Linked DNA regions of Homo sapiens: region 2 is linked to region 1. The links are contacts of gene promoters, found by promoter capture Hi-C in human tissues and cell types (Jung and others, 2019). All regions are on one chromosome and are shown on one strand. The core of a region is centred on a gene start or on the middle of the fragment in contact, and the rest is flanking DNA. Distances in the headings are between cores, read along the strand shown. Region 1 holds the start of TSKS (testis specific serine kinase substrate). Region 2 overlaps ZNF473 (zinc finger protein 473).

What was found. Contacts are between HindIII fragments. The study calls those that stand out against the background at their distance.
Region 2: a fragment that was not itself captured here is called in contact with the fragment with the promoter of TSKS in region 1 in 1 of the 25 tissues and cell types used here (spleen).

What each region holds. Positions count from the first base shown.
Region 1 is chr19:49,762,056-49,766,118 of GRCh38, reverse strand. It overlaps TSKS (testis specific serine kinase substrate), which reads left to right and starts at 2,813. Exons shown (of 11, transcript NM_021733.2): 1 at 2,813-3,041; 2 at 3,887-4,063. The coding sequence starts at 2,872. It also overlaps the pseudogene RNU6-841P. RefSeq lists enhancers at 1-453, 4,060-4,063. The HindIII fragment of the contact is 39,317 bases long and covers 1-4,063 here.
Region 2 is chr19:50,027,351-50,031,380 of GRCh38, reverse strand. It overlaps ZNF473 (zinc finger protein 473), which reads right to left. Exons shown (of 5, transcript NM_015428.4): 2 at 290-489. The coding sequence starts at 298. Among named protein-coding and RNA genes, the nearest start is that of ZNF473, 3.4 kb to the right of the region's middle. The HindIII fragment of the contact is 4,342 bases long and covers 1-3,470 here.

The sequences.
Region 1 (4,063 bases), core at 1,564-4,063:
TGGCTTACTTTTCAATATATGTTGCCTTTTTTTTTTTGTCCAACCGCAGTGTCTCTCGGGCAGCCTCCATTGTAGCAGATATCAAACCAAAATTGATTGTCTCCTCCAGACTGGGAACTCCTTCTGGGCAAGAATGGGACCTGGCCTTGAACAGTTTCAACAACATTTGTTAAAAGAAGAAATAGGTGAATCTGCTTTGGCCCAGCCCCAGCCTCCATCCCCAACCCCCAGCTCCCCAGAGACTCTTTGGTAAACTGGCTTTGGGGAAGGCAAAACGGCCAGAACTCCCAACGCCCCAGGAGATTGAGAAATTTGGGACAAAGGGAACTGGAAGAGTCCATTTCTGTCACCTGTAGGAACAAAACTCCACCCCATCAGCCTTTTCTAATCTCAGAAGCCAAGAATTCCTGGAATGAGCCTTGGGGGTGTGTTCTGGACCTTTGGAATGGCCATTCTGAATCCTGGGAGATGGAAAGGAGGTTGAGAAGAGCCCACCTTCCAGGCTCAATGGATGCGTCCATTTGGGTTTCCAGGAATGGGGCCTGGGAAAGTCCATTTTGGATTCCAGGAGGACAGAAATTGCTCAGCTGTTTTAGTCACAGGGAGAGTCCATTTCTAATATGGGAGGGGGGTGCTGTTTGCCCCTGAAGAACATAAAGCAGCCCCATTAAACACAAGAAAAATTATTAATCCCAGGACTTGAAGTTCTTTTTTTTTTTTTTTGAGATGGAGTCTCGCTCTGTCGCCCAGGCTGGGGTGCAGTGGCGCGATCTCAGCTCACTGCAACCTCCGCCTCCCGGGTTCACGCCATTCTCCTGCCTCAGCCTCCCAAGTAGCTGGGACTACAGGCGCACGCCACCATGCCTGGCTAATTTTTTGTGTTTTTAGTAGAGACGGGGTTTCACCGTGTTAGCCAGGATGGTCTCGATCTCCTGACCTTGTGATCCGCCCACCTCGGCCTCCCAAAGTGCTGGAATTACAGGCGTGAGCCACTGCGCCCGGCCTTTTTTTTTTTTCTTTTTTTTGAGACAGAGTCTCTCTCTGTCCCCCAGGCTGGAGTTCAGTGACTCAATCTCGGCTCACTGTAACCTCTTCCTCCCGAGTTAAAGCGATTTTCCTGCCTCAGCCTCCTAAGTAGCTGGGATTACAGGCACCCGTCATCATGCTCGCCTAATTTTTGTATTTTTGTAGAGACAGTGTTTCACTATGTTGGCCAGGCTGGTCTTGAACTCCTAACCTCAGGTGATCCGCCCGCCTCGGCCTCCCAAAGTGCTGGGATTACAGGTGTGAGACACCGCGCCCAGCCAGGAGTTCTTTATTATAGAAAGATTAAGTGTTCCAAGAACTGGAGTCCATTCATGACCAGGAAGAAGTACTTTCTCCCTGGGGATAACAGCATTTAAAATGTCTATTAGCAGTGATGTTTGAACTAGTCTTTTTGAGAAGTGTGAAGAGAACAGGAAAAGTCTGTCCCTAAATAGCAGGGCAGTGCTCGCTTCGACAGCACATGTATTAACATTGGAACGATACAGAGAAGATTAGCATGGGCCCTGCGCAAAGACCACATGCAAATTTGTGACATGTTCCATATATTTTTTAAATACTTTGGGCGGGCGGGGCGCAGTGGCTCACACCTGTAATTCCAATGCTTTGGGAGGCTGAAGTGGGCAGATCACGAGGTCAGGAGTTGGAGACTAGCCTAGCCAACACAGTGAAACCCTGTCTCTACTAAAAATACAAAAAAAAAATTAGATGGGTGTGGTGGCAGGTACCTGTAGTCCCAGCTACTCAGGAGGCTGAGGCAGGAGAATCGCTTGAAACTGGGAGGTAGAGGTTGCAATGAGCCAAGATCACGCCACTGCACTCCAGCCTGGGTGTCAGAGCGAGACTCCATCTAAAAAAAAAAAAAAAAAATTATAGCGGAGCATGGTGGCTCATGTCTGTAATCCCACACTTTGGGAGGCTAAGGCGGGTGGACCATTTGAGGTCGGGAGTTTGAGACCAACTTGGCCAACATGGTGAAACCCGTCTCTACTAAAAATACAAAAATTAGCCGGACATTGTGGCCAGCGCCTGTAGTCCCAGCTACTGGGGAGGCTGAGGCAGGAGAATCGGTTGAACCCCGGGAGGTGGAGGTTGCAATGAGCTGAGATCGCGCCACTGAACTCCAGCCTCCATGACAGAGAGAGACTCTGTCTCAAAAAAAATAAAAAGTATTAAAGAAAATAATAAATAAATAAACGGGGGAGGGGGATACCACCCTCTGTCCTGCCCCAACTCTCTACCTTCCTCTCCTCCCTCACCTTCTACCCTGACCCCGAGGCCCACCGCACCTAGCTTTCTTTTGTTGATCTACCTGTATATTGCCTTTCCCCCGACCCCGACGCCCCATAGAATATGAGACCCTCCAGGTCAGGGTCTGGATCTCAGCCCTCTTCGACCACAGTCTCTCAAACCCCAGCCAATTGTCAAATCCAGGAAGCTACATGAAGAATCAAGAACAAGTGCACAGGGCTGTGTGACCCCACGCTTAGTCTCAGGGAGAGGGAAGTTGGACCTCTCCCAAGAATCCGTGGGCCGACCCATTGTTAAGTTACAGGCTAGCATGAATCCATCCACTGGAGCTCTGAAGACGGGGGGCACATTGGGCATGTAACTAGAATCCTGAACAGGAGGAGTCCACTGAGAACCCTAGGGGAATGACCTGGGCCAGCATCTCTCCCTACCCTGTGCCCCCCACTCACTGGGGCCCAGTGGTTGGGTCCTTTGTGAGGCAGGCTGAGGGGACAGTGGATCCTGAGGGTCTGTGGTCACAGTAGGTAGGAAGTCTCAGAGGAAGGAGCCCCTCCCTGGGAGCCAGACCCCCACACCATGGCGAGCGTGGTGGTGAAGACGATCTGGCAGTCCAAAGAGATCCATGAGGCCGGGGACACCCCCACGGGGGTGGAGAGCTGCTCCCAGCTAGTCCCAGAGGCTCCCCGGAGGGTGACCAGCCGGGCCAAGGGGATCCCGAAGAAAAAGAAGGCCGTGTCGTTCCACGGGTGGGTTTGTTGCACACTGTCAGGGATGGTTCTAATGCCCAGCACTACCTCCAACAGAGCAGGAGTCCGACTGTGGGTGCTAGAGGAAGGGGAGGGGGAAAAGCCAGCAGGTCGGGGGCAGGAAAGAGGGCAGCAGTGAAGAGACATCAAGTCACAGGGAGGTAGAGAGGAAGAAGGTAATGGGGATGGATGGAGGGAGGAAGAAGGTAATGGGGATGGATGGAGAGAGGAAAAAGCCAGTGGGGAGGGAAGAAGGAGAAGGGAGGCTAGTGAATGAAGAAGAAAGTAGGTGGCAGAGAAGGGAGGAGAAAGTAGGCAGCGGGGAAGGAGAAGAAGAAAGTAGACAGTGGTGGTCGGGCACGGTGGCTCACGCCTGTAATCCCAGCACTTTGGGAGGCCGAGGCAGGTGGATCATGAGGTCAGGAGTTCAAAACCAGCTTGGCCAACATGGTGAAAAGCCATCTCTACTAAAAATACTAAAATTAGCTGGGCGTGATGGCACATGCCTATAACCCCAGCTACTCAGGAGGCTGAGGCAGGAGAATTGCTTGAACTGGGACCCGCAGTCGGAGGTTGCAGTGAGCTGAGATCGCGCCACTGCACTCCAGCCTGGGCAACAGAGTGAGACTCTGTCTCAAAAAAAAAAAAAAAAGAAAGAAAGAAAAAAGAAAGAAAGTAGGCAGCACAGGGAAGGAGAATAAAGTAGGCAGCGGGGACAGAGAAGGGAGAAACTTATATACAGTGAGGGTGGAGTCACAGGGGGTGAGGTATGGAGAAAGGAAGGCAGGAGGGCCCAGACACCCTGGGGCTGCTTCTCCACTTTTCTGCCTGTTTCTTCTCTGCAGGGTGGAGCCCCAGATGTCCCATCAGCCCATGCACTGGTGCCTGAACCTCAAACGGTCCTCGGCCTGCACCAACGTGTCACTGCTCAACCTGGCCGCCATGGAGCCCACTGACTCCACGGGGACAGACTCCACAGTGGAAGACCTCAGCGGCCAACTCACACTGGCTGGGCCCCCTGC
Region 2 (4,030 bases), core at 50-2,549, 270 kb before region 1:
AGAAGCCAGAACACACAGGAAGGCTGAAAAACCTGGAATTTATTCTATAAGCAATAGGGGTTCCCAGAAGAGTACAAACAGGAAAGAACAGCATGCGAGCTTTCCTTTAAAAAAGATCGCCTGGGAGCCACCATGGGACAGGGAGGCCAAAACAAAGGAAGGCCAGCTTTCCTGCCATGGGGGTGACCAATCAACACAGAGCGACCTTCAACTCGCCTCGGCCACAAAGGAAGGCCAATTTTTCTGCCTTTGGGTGTGACCGATTAGGACAGAGCGACCTTCAACTCACCTCAGCCATGGCCAACTGGGGTTCAGTAGCCTCTTTTAAGCTCCTCCTCCTTCCCCTCCGTGTTCCCGGCTGGCAGGGCTGTGGGAAGCACAAGGGAGCTGTGAGAAAGCCTCCCTTCCACCCATGGCTGACTCGCTGTCCATGCTGACGAGCCCCCAAAATGTCCAGGAGGAGGAGGACAAGTCCCAATGTGAGTCTCCCTGCAGGGGACAACAACAACTATATTTACTGAAGCCACCTCAGCCCCACATTTGCACTGTGCTTCAGAACCTACAGAACAGCTTCGCCACCAACAATGGTGGGTTAGCACCTAACAGTCAGTCAGCACATGTTTAGGAGATTTGGTGATGAAAGTCTATGGCCACAGTGGGAGCTTCTGTCTTGCTCACTGCTGTGTCTTAGCACCAGCATGGTGCCTAGTACGCAGTAGGTGCTTTAACAGTAGGTGTAAAAGTACCTACAGTTGTTGACAGAACGAAGGTGTCTAAAGAACCAATGGAACAATGCTTCTGGGATTTCTGATTATCATCTCTGGAATTTGAGTTCAGGTAAATTGGCCTCCGAAACTGTTACTCTTTTTTGGAGACACGGTCTTGCTCTGTTGCCAGGCTGGAGTACTACAGTGGCACAATCATGGGCCACTGCAGCTGTAATTTCCTGGGCTTAAGCAATCCTCCAACCTCAGCCTCTCAAGCAGCTGGGACTACAAGCATGTGCCACCACATCCAGCTAATCTTTTTCACTTTTTGTAGGGACAGGATCTCACTTGTTGCCCAAGTTGTTCTCAAACTCCTGACCTCAAGTAAGCCGCCCTCGTGGGCCACCCAAAGTGCTGGGATTACAGTTGTGAGCCACCGCACCTGGCCACTATCTCTACAACAGAAATATTTCAACTTTTGTTTTAACCGTGACCCACAGTAACACCACCAATATGTAGAATAGGCCAGGCACAGTAGCTCACGCCTGTAATCTCAGTACTTTGGGAGGCCGAGGTGGGCAGATTACTTGAGGTCAGGAGTTCAAGACCAGCCTGGCCAATATGCTGAAACCCCGTCTGTACTAAGAATACAAAAATTAGCTGGGCTTGGTGGGACGTGCCTGTGATCCCAGCTACTCGGAAGGCTGAGGCAAAGAATCACTTGAACCCGGGAGGCAGAGGCTGCAGTGAACCGAGATGGTGCCACCGCACTCCAGCCTGGGCAACACAGTGAGACTCCATCTCAAAAAAGAAAAAAAAAAAGTATCATGACTACTCAAACACACAGTGTAACTAAACAAAAGCTTCATGAAGCAATACTTACCCTGCAATGTAAGATGCACTGGGATGTTTTCTATTCTAGTCTCTTTTATTCTACTTCATTAAAAAATCATAGTCACTGCCCACCTAGTTATTTTCATGACCCATAATACGCAAAACTGTACCACAGACATTTTTACCCATTTGTATCCACTGCGTGGACCAAGTAGCACATATCTGCGGAGTGCTGAAAGCATTTCATATCACAAAGCAGCACGGATCACTTAACAATGACACAGGTCCACAAATTCTTCAAACTCCAAGGCCAGATGTGCTTTGAAATTCAACTTTTATTTTCAAAAGGTGATATGGCATATACATGGCATATTTCATTAAAATCCCAGTGCAGGGCTGGCCGCAGTGGCTCATGCCTGTAATCCCAGCACTTTGGGAGGCCAAGGCAGGCGGATCACGAGGTCAGGAGATCCAGACCATCCTGGCTAACGCGGTGAAACCCCGTCTCTACTAAAAATACAATAACAAAATTAGCCAGGCATGGTGGTGGGCGCCTGTAGTCCCAGTTACTCAGGAGGCTGAGGCGAGAGAATGGTGTGAACCCGGGAGGTGGAGCTTGCAGTGAGCCGAGATGGCGCCATGCACTCCAGCCTGGGCGACAGAGCGAGACTCCGTCTCAAAAACAAAAACAAAAACAAAACAAAACAAAGTCCCAGCGCAGTGTGGATCAGGCTGCATTTCATAATTGAACACTTTACCCTAGAGAAAAGTATCATCGTTCATTCTAGGTAGAATAATTTAAAGTTATATTTAAAAAATACCCTGTAGTAGTTCAGGTAAGGCACGGACACTAAATTTATGAAAAAAAATTTGTTGTTCTGAGTTGTCCAGATTTTTGAGACTACAAATATGGGAATATGGTAGACCTACAATAAATGCTAATTCTACTGAACAATGAGTTTTTCTACATGTCAGAGGTTAAGCCTCAACCTACGAGTATAACTCAGTTGACAGATATTTGGCCCATAATGTTTGTTGGCAGACAGAATGTTTTGAAAGAAAATTCAAGCATGGCTCACTAGTCTCAAACTTGAAAATTGGGAAATTTCACCTAAAAATTATGTTTCCAACTTCTGAAACATCCTAGGATTTGGCAACATTGGGTCTACATCCCACGAAGTTAGTTCACTGGTGCCCATTTAAAGCTCCCCCACCAGTGCTAGGCAAGTGGGGGATGCTTATAATCCCAGCACTTTGGGAGGCTGAAAGGTGTTCGAGACCAGCCTGGGCAACGTAACAAGACCTTGTTTCTAAAAAAAAAAAATTAAAAATGAGCAAGTTGTGGTGGCACGTGCCTGTAGTCCCAACTACTTGGGAGACTGAGGTAGGAGGATCGCTTGGGAGGCTGAGGTAGGAGGATCACTTGAGCCCAGGAGTTCAAGGCTGCAGTGAGCTATGATTGTGTCACTGTACTCCAGCCTGAATGACAGAGAAAGATCCTGCCTCCAAAAAAAAATTAAATTTGTTTTTTTTTTTTTTTTTGAGACGGAGTCTCGTTCTGTCGCCCAGGCTGGAGTGCAGTGGCGCGATCTCAGCTCGCTGCAAGCTCTGCCTCCCGGGCTCATGCCATTCTCCTGCCTCAGCCTCCTGAGTAGCTGGGACTACAAGCGCCTGCCACCACGCCCGGAGAATTTTTTGTATTTTTAGTAGAGACGGAGTTTCACCGTGTTAGCCAGGATGGTCTCGATCTCCTGACCTCGTGATCCACCCACCTCGGCCTTCCAAAGTGCTGGGATTACAGGCATGAGCCACCACACCCGGCCAAAAAAATTAAATTTAAGTTTAAAAAGCGGCTGGGTGCAGTGGCTCATGCCTGCCATCCCAGCACTTTGGGAGGCCAAGGCAGGCGGATCACCTGAAGTTTGGAGTCCAAGACCAGCCTGATCAACATGGTGAAACCCCCGTATCTACCAAAAATACAGAAATTAGCCAGGCATGGTGGTGCACGCCTGTAATTCCAGCTGCTTGGGAGGCTGAGGCAGGAGAATCGCTTCAACCGGGGAGGTGGAGGTTCCAGTGAGACCGAACTCCAGCCTGGGTGACAGAGCGAGACTCTGTCATCAAAAAAAAAACACAATTCTCCCCTTCAGATGAGGCAAGTGCTCCCCAAGGCCCCGCAGCCTCACCTGGACCAGTTCTCTTCTTTCCTGTATGTCATCTGCCTGGCCCTCACAGACAGCTGAGCTTGAGATCCCTGTCTGCAGTTACCAAATCACATTCTGCCCACATCTCATATACTCTCAGCTCTGGGAGGAAAGAAACGAGGGCCCAGAGGTGGAGCCCAAGGTCATCCAGCCCAGAGTGACTTAAGCCAAACAATTATCAGGCTGAGAGACCTTGGGCCCAAGAGTCTTGCCCTTCCTTCCAGACCATTTACCTTCTCTAAGCCTTAGTTTCCACATGTACCAAATGGAACAAATACAACAGAT